Linked DNA regions of Homo sapiens: region 1 is linked to region 2. Evidence: promoter capture Hi-C in 16 types of primary human blood cells and fetal thymus (Javierre and others, 2016). All regions are on one chromosome and are shown on one strand. The core of a region is centred on a gene start or on the middle of the fragment in contact, and the rest is flanking DNA. Distances in the headings are between cores, read along the strand shown. Region 1 has its middle 130 kb from the start of MB21D2. Region 2 holds the start of ATP13A4-AS1 (ATP13A4 antisense RNA 1).

Evidence for each region. The method cuts DNA at HindIII sites, captures the fragments that hold promoters and counts their contacts. A CHiCAGO score of 5 or more calls a contact.
Region 1: a fragment that was not itself captured here is called in contact with the fragment with the promoter of ATP13A4-AS1 in region 2 in 1 of 17 cell types (M2 macrophages); the score reaches 5.7 in M2 macrophages.

The regions. Positions count from the first base shown.
Region 1 is chr3:193,041,974-193,048,912 of GRCh38, reverse strand. No RefSeq gene overlaps it. Among named protein-coding and RNA genes, the nearest start is that of MB21D2, 130 kb to the right of the region's middle. The HindIII fragment of the contact is 1,622 bases long and covers 2,271-3,892 here.
Region 2 is chr3:193,549,148-193,555,994 of GRCh38, reverse strand. ATP13A4-AS1 (ATP13A4 antisense RNA 1) reads right to left here and starts at 2,782. Exons shown (of 2, transcript NR_121666.1): 1 at 2,708-2,782; 2 at 411-1,225. It overlaps ATP13A4 (ATPase 13A4), which reads left to right and starts at 1,100. Exons shown (of 30, transcript NM_032279.4): 1 at 1,100-1,255. The coding sequence starts at 1,196. The HindIII fragment of the contact is 3,457 bases long and covers 688-4,144 here.

The DNA.
Region 1 (6,939 bases), core at 1,832-4,331, 510 kb after region 2:
AGATTATTAACAAGCTCTAGAGTTATCTTATGAAGCCAGCATGGATCTGGTCCAAGTTGAAGTATTTGGGAACTGATAGACTAGATGATCTCTAGGGTCTTCTCCAAATCTTAAAATTCTATTTAAGAAATGTATTCTGCAAGTCAGGCATGGTGGTATGTGCCACTAGTCCCAACTACTCAAGAGTCTGAGGCAGGAGAATCACTTGAACCCAAAAATTCGTGGCTATGATCCCACCTGTAAATGAGAATGTTCACTGCACTCCAACGTGGGCAACATACCAAGATTTTGTTTAAAAAAAATTTGTTTGCTGTGATTCTTATGTTAGTAATTATACAACTAGTCATATAAATGTAATCTTTTTATCAGACTGTATCAGCCTAGATTTAGAAAGGGGGAAGGAAAAAACTAACAAAGTAAAAAAAAAAATCCACCAACTCTACCCTTTCCTGCTATTGCAGACTCTTCAAATTCCCATTTCCCCAGAATTTTGGGAGTTCACTGGGGATGTACACCGATAAACATTCTCTCTCCATTGTAGTAGCTTTCTCTTTCTGCTCATGTTCTGGATCTGATGTGCATGCCTCTTCTTATGAGTAACACATGTCATCTCTGAAACTCAATATTTTCTCCCAAAAAATCTTGCTGTAGCTGTTGTCACTCCATCCTATTGATACTAGTTGTACTGTGCTGTGCCAGAGGTACCACCATGAGCTATGCCACTCAGCCTTCTGAGACTCCTGATGAAGAGGACCACAGGCATCACTCAATTGTAAGCAGAGCAAATGTATTTCCTCTCACATGCTAATTCAGAACAATTGCTGTTGGGAATTCTGAGGCTGCATGAGGTTGGTGGAAAGTGCCATAATCAATTAATTATGATGGTTATGGGAGCAAGAATGAAGAATGATGGTATGCCAAGGATGTGCCATCTAATCCAAATCCTCTCTTTTCTTTCTGGCTATTTGTTTTGTTTTGTTTTACAAATGACAATACTGCAGCCCAGAGAAAGACTTACTCAAATTTGCACAAATATTGCAGAGACACCAATTGTATTAGTCAGGGTTCTCCAGAGGGACAGAATTAATAAGATAAATGTATATATAAAGGGGAGTTTATTAAGGAGTACTGACTCACACAATCACAAAGTGAAGTTCCACAATAGGCCATCTGCAAGCTGAGGAGCAAGGAAGCCAGTCCAAGTCCCAAAACCTCAAAAGTAGGGAAGCCAAAAGTGTAGCCTTCGGTCTGTGGCCAAAGGCCTGAGAGCCTCTGGAAAATCACTGGTGTTAAGTCCAAGAGTCCAAAAGCTGAAGAACCTGGAGTCTGATGTTCAAGGAAGGAAGCATCCAGCATGGGAGAAAGATGAAGGCTGGAAGACTCAGCAAGTCTAGTCCTTCCAAATTTTCTGCCTGCTTTATTCTAGCCACACTGGCAGCTGATTAGATGGTGCCCACCCAGATTGAGGGTGGGTCTGCCTCTCCCAGTCCACTGATTCAAATGTGTCAACACCCGCACAGATACACCCAGGAACAATATTTTGCATCCTTCAGTCCAATCAAGTTGACATTCAATATTAACCATCACACCAATCATCCCAAGCAGACTTTGGGTTAGAGGCAATTAGCCCATGTACAGGACTTTAGGCTGATGGTGTTCTCTCTCTCTCTCTTTCTCTCTCTCACTCTCTCTGTGTGTGTGTGTGTGTCTGTGTGTGTGTGTGTGTGTGTAAGAACCTGGACAGCCAGGTGCAGTGGCTCACGCCTGTAATCCCAGCGCTTTGGGAGGCCGAGGCAGGTGGATCACTTGAGGTCAAGAGTTTGAGACCAGCCTGGCCAACATGGTGAAACCCTGTCTCTACTAAAAATACAAAAATTAGCTGGGCATGGTGGTGGACGCCTGTAATCCCAACTACTCAGGAGGCTGAGGCAGGAGAATCACTTGAACCTGGGAGGTGGAGGTTGCGGTGAGCCAAGATTGTGCCACTGCACTCCAGCCTGGGCAACAAAGTGAGACTCTGTCACACACACACCCACACAAAAAGAACCTAGACAATATTCCATAATGCAATGCAATGCCTCGTGTACACAGTCCATGTGGGCTTTCTGATATTTATCTGTCCTTTTGAAGATTTTTTAATTAAAAAAACTCTATAGAATTTATTCAAGCAGCATTATCTTAGGACAACTACTTACTACATTTTCTAACAGTTGTTATTTCCCCTTTGTTAAAGAGTCAGCTGTAAAATAATGCTTTCTTTGCAGAAAGCTTGTGCCGCTGGACAGATTAGATAACTCGGGGGATTTGCAGCAGGCAGTGGAGACTTTAACCCGCAGGTCACCCCTTTCATCTCTCACCCAGATTAGGCCTGACAGCTGTTCACGATCCTCCTTGGAAGGGAATGCCCAGCCGCTTGCCTCAAGACAATTGGCATCAAACTATGGAACCCTTTTGAAAGTCTTGAAATATATTTTGTCATTCCTTTTAGTCCAGGTGTCTGTCATTTCACAAATCACAAGAGTACCACAAAAACCTGGATGAAGTTTAGTTAGCACAGAGCAAAGAGGCTCTGACCGCTGAAATAGATATTGATGACTGGCCCCAAAGCTCCATCCACAAACCACAGGCAAAAAACAGTTTCACCACATATAATCCAGGGTCTGTGATAGGTGCTGAACAGATGTTGCTTCTTGAAGAACAGTCTCTCTGGCTACTTTTCTAGAGAGTTCTTTATTCTACCCCATCTTCGCTTCCCCAGAGTGAGGTCCAAAGCAGTTGCAACATATCTTGCAGGTAGAAGCTGGTTGAGTTCAACTCACTCACAACTAGAAAACTGAATTCGTCTCAGAAAACATCCATTTATATTGTGATTGTTGGGATGGTTGGTTTTATTACAGGAAGGGAGAGTGGAAAATAATATATTATAAATGGGATTTTTAATATTATTGATCTATAGCAATAATCCCCAACTTCTTCAACAAAAGAACACCTCATATATGCAGAACCATGCCACATCCCACAACACACACATACATAACTGTGGCCATATTTTTTACATGCCTGGAATGAAAAAATATTTATACTTCAAGATCTCTGGAACTCTTGTAATAATTTCTTGTCTCCCTAATTCTCCTTTCACTCCTCCAGATGAGGAGCCTCTGCCTAGAGGAGTGGTCCATGCATGCATTCTCACAGGTAGGAATACCTATTGAAATACCCAGTAGAGTCTCGTAAAGGAGTCTCCATGCTTCATCTTCATAGATGGACAACAATAAGAACGTGCTGTGGAGTAAAAAACTCAGTGACAATTTTCATCCCAGGTTGCTACTTATTCATTTTTTTTGTATGAAACTTACATTTCTTTTTTTAACTTTTAAGTTCAGGAGTACATGTGCAGGTTTGTTATTTATGTAAACTTATGTCACAGGGATTTGTTGTACAGATTATTTTGTCACCCAGGTGTTAAGCCTAATACTCATTAGTTATTTTTCCTGATCCTCTCCTTCCTCCTACCCTCCACCCTCAGGTAGGCCCCTGTGCCTGCTGTTCCTCTCTATGTGTCCATGTGTTCTCATCATTTAGCTCCTGCTTATAAGTGAGAATGTGAAATATTTAATTTTCTGTTCCTGCATTAGTTTGCTAAGGATAATGGCCTCCGTTGTATGGCTGCATAGTATTCCATGGTGTATACGTACTGCATTTTCTTTATCCAGTCTACCACTCATGGACATTTAGGTTGATTCCATGTGTTTGCTGTAGTGAATAGTGCTGCAAGAACATACATGTGCATGTGTCTTTATGATGGCATGACCTACATTCCTTTGGGTATATACCCAGTCACTGTATATTTATATATATTTTTATCCCAAATCTTTCAATTTAAGACTAAGCTTAAATGATCTCCAAGTCACTATATATTTATATATATTTTATCCCAAATATTTCAATTTAAGACTAAGCTTAAACGATCTCCATGAAACATATTACTGCTGTTATTGTTATTATTTCTTCTACTTTCATATGTGTCATTAATAAATTGTTGGGAATAAAGAGCATTGTTAGATTTTTCTTTGTTTATTAAAGGAAGATATTTTAATATTTATTGTTTTATTTATTTTTGAGACAGGGTCTCACTCTGTTGCCCAGGCTGGAGTGCAGTGGTAAGATCATGGCTTACTGCAGCCTCAACCACCCAGGCTCAAGTGATCCTCCCACTTTAGCCTCCTAAGTAACTGGGACTACAGGTTTACACCACCATGCCTGGCTAATTTTTTTTATTTTTTGTACAGACAGCGTTTTGCCATGTTACCCAGGTTGGTCTCAAACTTCTGCACTCAAGTGATTATCCAACCTTGGCCTCCCAAAGTGCTGGGATTACAGGTGTGAGCTACCACACCCAGGCTGAAGGAAGGTATTTTAAAGAATTGTGGTATAATGGAGAGATTGGATTAATACTCAGAAGACCTATTCTGATTATTAGGCTACTTGGCCACATGACTTAACTCTTCTGAGCCTCAATTTTGTTATGTATGAATTCAAAAACATTGTTCCCATTCTTGCCTCATAGCATTGTTACAGAGATCAAATATGTTAATATATTTGAAAAAACTTTAAGCTTTTTAAAAAGTATTTTGTGCTACTTATAATCTATTCTTTTCTAACTAAAGGAGTAATGGTAGTTTATTATGGAAAATTGGAAAATGCAATACAGTAGAAAGTAAATTAATGTGACTCATAATCTCACAATTTAGAAATATCAACTGTTAAAATTTTGACATGTAAACTTCCACACTATTTGTCTTCTGTATACATGTGTATGTGTTTGAAAAATCAAAGTCACATTATAAACATGGCTTATGACATACATTTTTTCACTTAAGTGTCTTGAGTGTTATAGACTGAATTGTGTTTCCTCCAAATTCCTATGCGGAAGTCCTCACTCCTAATATGACTGCATTTGGAGAAAGGGCCTTTAAAGAGGTAATTGCAGTTCAATGAGGTGGTAAGGGTGAAGCCCTGTTCCAACATGACTGGTGTCCTTATAAGAAAAGGGAGAGAAAGGGCGCAGTGGCTCACGCCTGTAATCCCAGCACTTTAGGAGGCTGAGGTGTGTAGATCACGAGGTCAGGAGTTCGAGACCAGCCTGATCAACATGGTGAAACCACGTCTCTACTAAAAATACAAAAATTAGCTGGGCATGGTGGTGCGCACCTGTAGTCCCAGCTACTCAGGAGGCTGAGGCAGGAGAATCGTTTGAACCCAGGAGACAGAGGATGCAGTGAGCCGAGATCATGCCACTGCACTCCAACCTGGGTGACAGAGTGAGACTCCATCTTAAAAAAAAAAAGAAAAAAGAAAAGGGAGAGACACCAAGAATGTACAAACACAGAGAAAGGACCATGTGAAAACACAGCAAGAAGGAGGCCAGCTGCAAGCCAAGGACAGAGGCCTCAGGAGACAGCAACCCTGCTGGCACCCTGATCTTGGACTTTTGTTCTCCAGAACTGTGATAAATCAATTTCTGTTGTTTATGTTACAAGGTCTATGGTATTTTGTTATGGCAGCACCAGGAAAATAATATATTGAGCATTTCCCTGTAAATATTTTTAAATAATTTTATTTTTAATGACTGAAAATTCATCATTTTGATATAATTATGTAGCTAATCCTCTTTTTTGAAATATTTAGGTCATTCCCAATTTTTGCTATCATGAATAATGCTTTTAATATCCTTGTATGTTGGTAAATCATTTTTTAGATGCAAAATGCCCTCCAAAAAGACCATAGTATAAATTAATGGGAATAAATTATGGGAATTCTTCATACTATTTCTGCAACTTTTCTGGGTTAAAAATTACTTCAAAATAAAAATGAGAGAGAAGGCCAGGCGTGGTGCCTCACGCCTGTAATCCCAGCACTTTGGGAGGCCAAAGTGGGTGGGTCACCTGAGGTCAGGAGTTCGAGACCAGTCTGGCCAACATGGTGAAACCCCGTCTCTACTAAAAACACAAAAATTAGCCGGGCATGGTGGCGGGAGCCTGTAATTCCAGCTACCTGGGAGGCTGAGGCAGGAGAATCACTTGAATCCCGGAGGCGGAAGTTGCAGTGAGCTGAGACCATGCCATTGCACTCCAGCCTGGGCAATAAGAGCAAAACTCCATCTAAAAAAAAAAAAAGTGAAGAGAAATCTCATAACAAAGCTAGAATTCCACTAGAATATGTACATGAGTATTATCCTGCAGCCAATATTGTATAGGCACAGGACCAGAAAAGCCTTCTTGGAGATCAATATTCTGATTGCAAATACTGTCAATCCAACAGGGGACTCTAACAGGAATGCTTTCTCTTGGCAGGAATTTGACAATTTGGTGCACAGCTAAGGATGGGGAAGGAAGGAAATTTAGAAACATCTTTCTAAAAATTATTGGTCCTGCACAGAGAAGAATAAATGTGAGAATGGAGGTGGGATTCCTACCTTTGCTAGTCTCTCCTTGATTTTATAAGCAATGACTATCACACAGCTCCCTTATGCTCCTCATTTTAGTAAAATTTACCCTAGCTCTTACAATCAGGTGGTGCTTACAGGCTTTTCTATGACAATTCAATAACAGTCAAATATTTACTGAACACTTATACAGAGTTTTGTTGGGGGTTATAGAAATTAATGAGGATCGTTCTCTACCTTCTAGGTGGACACACTAGTGAGACAGACTCATAGAAAGGAAAACAATAAGCTATCATAAAAACTGAAGGAACTAAGCCTCACTGGTGGCTGGGAAGGCACTGAATATGCATTAAAGAGATCAGGGAAGCATTAATAGAGGAGGTAGTATTGAAGGATGAATAGGATATTGCTAAGCAGAGTCAAATGGAAAAGCTGCTAAAAGTACCTAACATCTGAAAAAGAATGACCAGGGTTCATGCATGAGATAGGGTGCA
Region 2 (6,847 bases), core at 1,533-4,032:
AATCCTAACAGCACTTGATCAGTGCTGTACAATGTACTTTCACAATGATCTCATTCCATTCTCTCAAAAGTCCTGTCGGGCGGTACCAGATGAGAAGAGCCGGTTCCTATAGTTAAATGATCACACAGCAAGGCCAGTGCAGACAAGCAGCTGGAATACAGGTATTTTGCCAGAGCTAGGGTAGGGGTGTGTTTCTCTACACCACATTGGGACTTCTGACAGTTTTCTTAGACTTCTGTTCCATCTCTTATAATAACAATCCACTTTCTATCATATTTGTTTGGATGTTTGAATCCTTACATCAACACGAGGGTAGCAAATATGACTTAACTTTTTTAGGTAGTCCCTGTGCTCAGGCACTGTTTATTGAATAAATGTGTAAACAAATTAAAAAAGAGTCTGGCCATATAGTCATTTGAATATTTTATTTCTAGACTTCCTTAAGTGTTGAACCATCAATATTTTAGTGAAAGGAGACTACATAGACTAGTTTGATGATACCTTTGTTCTTTTTCTACATGTGTTTCAAAAAAGTAAACTTAATTTCACATACACTTTAAATAGAATTTTTTTTGCATATACAAGGAAATGTGATTACAAATACCTTTTGAAGAGGATTAGTGATAATCTGTACCTTTTGTAAGCAAAATGAATGAGAGTACTATTAGAAACCTGTGGATTGAAGCTTTCATTCATCAAAGAAAATCTGCAGCTCTGTGCGCTTCCGCTCAACCCAATTCCTTAGGTCCTCTGAATAAAGCAGTGACCTGGGAGTTCTTGCACCCGCTCCTCACTCCTGAGAAGGGTCCTGCCAACTCTGTATTGTCCTGTTGGATTTGCAGTCAGAAGTCTGAGGCTGGCAGGCACTGGGCAGGCAATGAGTTCTTTCCCTGTAAGTTGGGCACAAAAAGATCGGCATGGGAGCAGCCTCCTTTGAGACAGCTGCTCTGAGAGAATGCAATAAGCAGGGAGCAGCCAGCAATTCCTCCTAGCAGAGGGCGACTCGTGGGAGGAGTTCAGTTTGCCAAGTATTGTCATTTGTTGAGAGAAGGTGTGTGCTCAAGGAGGAGTTTTAACCTGGAGGATCATTAACTCTTTTAGTCAGCTGAGGAGCTGCGGTGGCTCGGCGAGTTGGAGTTCATCCTGGAAGCGTCTGCACGACAAGGTCAGGGAGGAGGTGTGGAATAACTTTTTCATGGGACACTTTGAGAAGGGCCAGCACGCTCTGCTCAATGAAGGAGAAGAGAATGAGATGGTAAGATTCTAGCCACATTCCCTTCTTCCCATCCCACTTCTCAGCCTGCGAGACACACACACACACACACACACACACACACACACGCACGCATCACACACACACAGACTTTTCTAAAATTTCACTCTGGTATTACACGAGAAAAGGTCATGTTTGAGAAATCTCTCTATCCTGTAAATATAACCTCTGACAGCAGAAATTTGCTAGAATGAAAATATTGTATTCATCTTGTCAAGAATGTTTTCTTTTTAAAGAAAACAGAGAGGGAGAGAAGCACCATGCACTTTATGATTCTTGTTTGAGCCTCATTGGTATAGCCAGTTCTGTTCAAAACACCTAACAATTTTAGGAAATCCCTAATGTGAGGAGCAGTGTATTCCCTGATAGGAAGAAGCAGAAGTTCAGCAGTGAAGCAGAAGTGCAGCTGGGTCTTTGACCTTCTCTTCTCAAATGTCTTGTTCACCGAGTCTGTTGGACAGGGAAGACATGCAATATTAACAATTATCAGCCTACACACATTTCTGTTTTCTTCTAGAATTTTACTTTTGTGGCTTCCTCATTATAGAGATTGGTTACAGAAAACTTTCGGTAGTTCAGTATCTCTTTGATTTTAGATGTGCTTCTATCTTGAGAACTATAGGAAAATCAAAGATGACTTTCATGCTCAGGATGAATTTAAAACTGTATTTCTCAATTACAATATAATCAAGAGAGAGTTAGAAATATGTACTTCTGTTTAATAAGATCTTTCTGCTAATTGTGTAAGCATAGTCTTTTATGCCAGTAATGATGTAATTAAAATGTTAAAATGTGACGCTCTCATTCCATAATAGCATTTAATCTTCCTGGAATTAATATGTAAATAACAAACCTGAAAGATATTTACTTAAAATGTTTTCTTGGTTAATTGCTTTAGCCCTGACTATTACATTCTTTGTTCCTAAACTGGTCTTTCAAGTCTAATCTGCTTACCTGTTCCTATAGCAACAACATTTTTTGGACTTTCAAGAGTAGATCCCTTCTGCTATCAAAGCTGAAAAAATTATAAAGAAGTAAAATGTACATTAATTCAGGTGCCTTTCTTAACCATATCCTTTACTTCATTCAGATTTGACTGCCAAATGAATTGCCTTCAGCCCCTCCACAAATGTCACCAGAAATGGCTTGCTAGCCCACATTGGATATCATCTTTGTTTCTTTAAAGAGTTTTCTTTAGGAAGTGAATATCTCATTACTCTCGATATTAAGTTGAAAAGTTTATCTTCATCTTGAATACTCTTCACCAGAAGGCAGGGGCTCCTTCCTCTGAAACATTTTTTTTCTCTCTCATTTAGAAATACACTCACTCTTTTCCAGTAAACCCCTTTCTGCTCTCAGACAATTTGTCTTTCAAGTCTCAATAAGAATCATTTATTTTCCAGAAGACATTCATGGTTGTAGGGAAACTGTTACCTCTTCCCTAGCATACATATTCCACCAAAGCAATTTAGTTAACAGTTCATCTTCATAATGGCACCATCAGATGCATGGAGAACTCCACGTAGTTTTGTATGCAGCTGAAAGCCCAGTTAGGAGAGGCCCTTTAATATGGAAAGGGACACTGTGTTTTCTGGTAGGCAGCCATTTGGCCAGTAGTCTCAGCAGAGGTGCAGCAATTAGTATGCACTCCTGAGCTCTCCATCCTCTTCTGCCTACAGAAACCTGGCCACCTGCCTGTTGCTGTGTCTGACACTGTGTTCCTTTTTAACTCACTCCTCCATCCCTTGCCCAGAGCAGTAAACTTTAAAAATTATCAAGCTATATATATAGTCTACATATTTTGTAGTGATTTTTAGTATACACAGCATTTTCTTGGCCACTAGCTAATTTAGTTTTCCTCACAACCCTATGAGGTAGATGCTGTGATTCTAACTTTAAAGATGAGGAAATTGATGCACACAGGCTTTCCCTAAGGTTGCATCAACCAGTAAGTCCAGGAGCTGAGGCACCGCACAGGTTAGTTTAAGTTGACAGCTCTTTTGTCTCTGGACCTGAACATAGCCCACTGATACCTTTTCCAGTTCTTCCGGAGAACATTCCACTCTTAACAGAACACATTCCCTTCCTTCATAAAACAAAGCTAAGGAGAACATCAACATCCAGTCTTCTTAGATTCCCCAGCATCTGTTCTGTTATAGATAATTTGAGTTTCTTTTTTCTTCTAGATAATTCGAGTAGCTTAAATAAGTCTGTCTTCTCTGACTTCCAAGTCCAGAAATGTGTCACACCAAAGTGTTTAGTTTCATGCTTTATAATATACTTTACTTGAACCTTTGCAAACGTAATTTCTCTTGTGGTAGAAATTACTTCAAATTTCAAGAGAAAACAACATGCTAGGGTTTAGACCTCATGTCAAATAAAGAAGAATATTCTGAGGCCTAAAGATGCCTGGGATTATCTTCCATTTTGGAGTTAAAAAACCAAAAACAGGCTGGGCATGGTGGCTCGTGCCTGTAATCCCAGCACTTTGGGAGGCCGAGGCGGGCGGATCACCAAGTCAAGAGATTGAGACCATCCTGGCCAACATGGTGAAACCCCATCTCTACTAAAAACACAAAAATTAGCTAGGCAGGGTGGCGTGCACCTGTAGTCCCAGCTACTTGGGAGGCTGAGGCAGGAGTATGGCGTGAACCTGGGAGGCAGAGGTTGCAGTGAGCCAAGATCGCGCCATGGCACTCCAGCCTGGCAACAGAGCAAGACTCTGTCTCAAAAATAAGTAAATAGATAAAAATAAATAAATAAACAAGTAACAAACCAAAAGCAAACAGGAACTAAAGAGCAACCCTAGGTGACCTGAAAATAATATCTTTAACTGCGAAATGAGACAGGACCCAAAGGTAGAAAGAAGCTTTTGGAGGGAGAAGGAAGGAAAGGTGAGAAAGTGGCCTTCAGCGAAGGTTCACCTAAATGACTGCCTCAGAAAGGCTTCGAGGAGGAAACTCTGGGAGAGCACTGGGACGGGACGGGAGGCCTGGCTCTCACCGGCCTTGGGCCAGCCGCTTGCCTGCTCTAGCCTCAGTTTTTATACCTGTAAAATAGGACTGGTCCTTCTTACCCCCACCAGACTCACAGAGTTCTCATGAAGATCAGTGGAGATAATCCATATAAACATGTTTTGAGAAGTAAACAGTTCTGGCGAGGTGTGAGCTGCTATCATCTAAATAAAGGTAGGAAAAGCCAAGGGCTTAGCAATTAACCAATTGAGTAAATACTATCCCACAAAAATGAGGTCATCTCTTGCCATTCAGTTATACCAAAAGGAATATGTACTTTTTTTTTTTCTTTTTGTTACACGGAGTCTTGCTCTGTTGCCAGGCTGGAGTGCAGTGGCGTGATCTCGGCTCACTGCAACCTCTGCCTCCTGGGTTCAAGTGTTTCTCCTGCTTCAGCCTCCCGAGTACCTGGGACTACAGCTGCATGCCACCATGCCTGGCTAATTTTTTGTATTTTTAGAAGAGATGGTGTTTCACCGTGTTGGCCAGGATGGTCTTAATCTCTTGACCTTGTGATCCACCTGCCTCAGCCTCCCAAAGTGCTGGGATTATGGGCATGAGCCACCGCACCTGGCCAGGAATATGTACTTTTATTCATAGGCCGTAGAGACCACTTATAAATGGAGAGGAGCTGGGTTATCTTCTACTTACCTTGTGCATACGTTGGGAAAACACCTACCTTTTTTAGCTTCCTTATTTGTAAAGTGAGAGTATGAGAATGTCTGGGAGCACAAATCTCTTTGAGTCCTGACGTTTTGTATTTCTATTTTGAAGGAATTTAGAACCATTTCCTTATACCATGGCTGAACGAAGGTATCATGGCTTAATTGATTCTAACATTGCTCTTTAGTTACACCTTAACACAATCAATCTTTTGGGGAAGTGTTTTGTTCCAGTGAGACTTTTAAAAAGTAACGTTCCCTGATATTTTTCTCTAGGCCTTAACAAATAAGACAAAAAATAAAAAAACCTTTGAATTCTTTTCTGATTATAAAGGTAACATATGTTTATTGTAAAAATATTGAAATGGCAAATAAGGATCTAAAGAATGAAGTAAATATGCTTCATGAGTTTACCACCAGACATGTCAATAAAAAATGCAGGCTGCGCGCCATGGCTCAAGCCTGTAATCCCGGCACTTTGGGAGGCTGAGGCGTGCAGATTGCTTGAGCCCAGGAGTTCCAGACCAGCCTGGGCAACATAGTGAAACCCTGTCTATAAAAATACAAAAAAATTATCTGGATGTGGTGGTATCCACCTGTAGTCCCAGCTACTTGAGAGGCTCAGGTGGGAAGCTCGCTTTGGTCCAGGAGGTTGAGGCTGCAGTGAGCTGAGATCATATCAGTGCACTCCAGCCTGGGGGATAGAGTGAGACTCCGTCTCAAAAAAAAAAAAAAAAAAACCTAAAATTCACCACTTTCTAACTATTTTGCTCTATCTTCATACTTATCTGTGCTTTTGAGATTATTTGCACCTAATTTATCTGTATCATGGAAATACTAGGTAGTGGTATTACACAGCATGGTGCAATTGTATTTCTTCCGAACTCCTAATTCAGTGACATCACATTGGTAGCTTGAAATAAATAATGTTGGTGCTATTTATGCCACAGAAATCTGTGGATACTACAACGGGACTTCCACCCTGCCCCGCCTGAAGGCCATTTGTTAAATACTTACCAGCACATCACTGAACATATTGTTGCCTCATAATTTCCCTTTTCCCCGCTACATGTTGAAAAACAACATGAATATTGTTTTTGGATATCATCCGTTTGTTTGCATCATGGCAAAACAAGATTATTCCATTGATTTAAAAATTCTATTCTTAAAAAATATACATATACTTAGAAATATGTATCTTTTTCATGTTAGTTTTTTTTGGAGAAAGGGTCTCTGTCTGGGTTGGAGTGCAATGGTGTGATCATAGCTCACCGCACCCTCAACCTCCCAGGCACAGGTGATCCTCCCACATCAGCCTCCTGAGTAGCTGGGACCACGGGCGCATGCCACCATGCCTGGCTAATTTTCCAGTATTTTATGTAGAGAGAGGGTTTCACCATGTTGCCCAGGCTGGTCTGAAACTCCTGGACCCAAGAGATCCACCTGCCTTGGCCTCCCAGAGTGCTGGAATTATAAGCGTGAGCATCCACACCTGGCCAATATGTATTTTTTAACAAAAATGGAGTGATTCTATCTCTACTTTAAAAAAAATTAGACTTTCCATTATACTTACAAATGCTTTATGGATCTCTCTCTCTCTCTCTCTCTCTCTATATATATATATATATTTGATAATTATAGTGTCACATAACCATTTCAATGTTCAAGTTGTGTTTGGATGAATTGTGCTGTATTAGCAGGTTTCCTGTGTTGCACAGCTATTATTTCTAATTTTTTTTTTTTGCTGTGATGAACAACTTTGTACTTAGATATTTATTTATTTTTCAGATTATTTCCTTAAGGTAAAGGCCTAGAATTATTATTACTGCCTCAAAGGGGACATGCATTTTAAATTTGGATTAACACATCATGCCAAATTACCCTTCAGAAGTTATAGT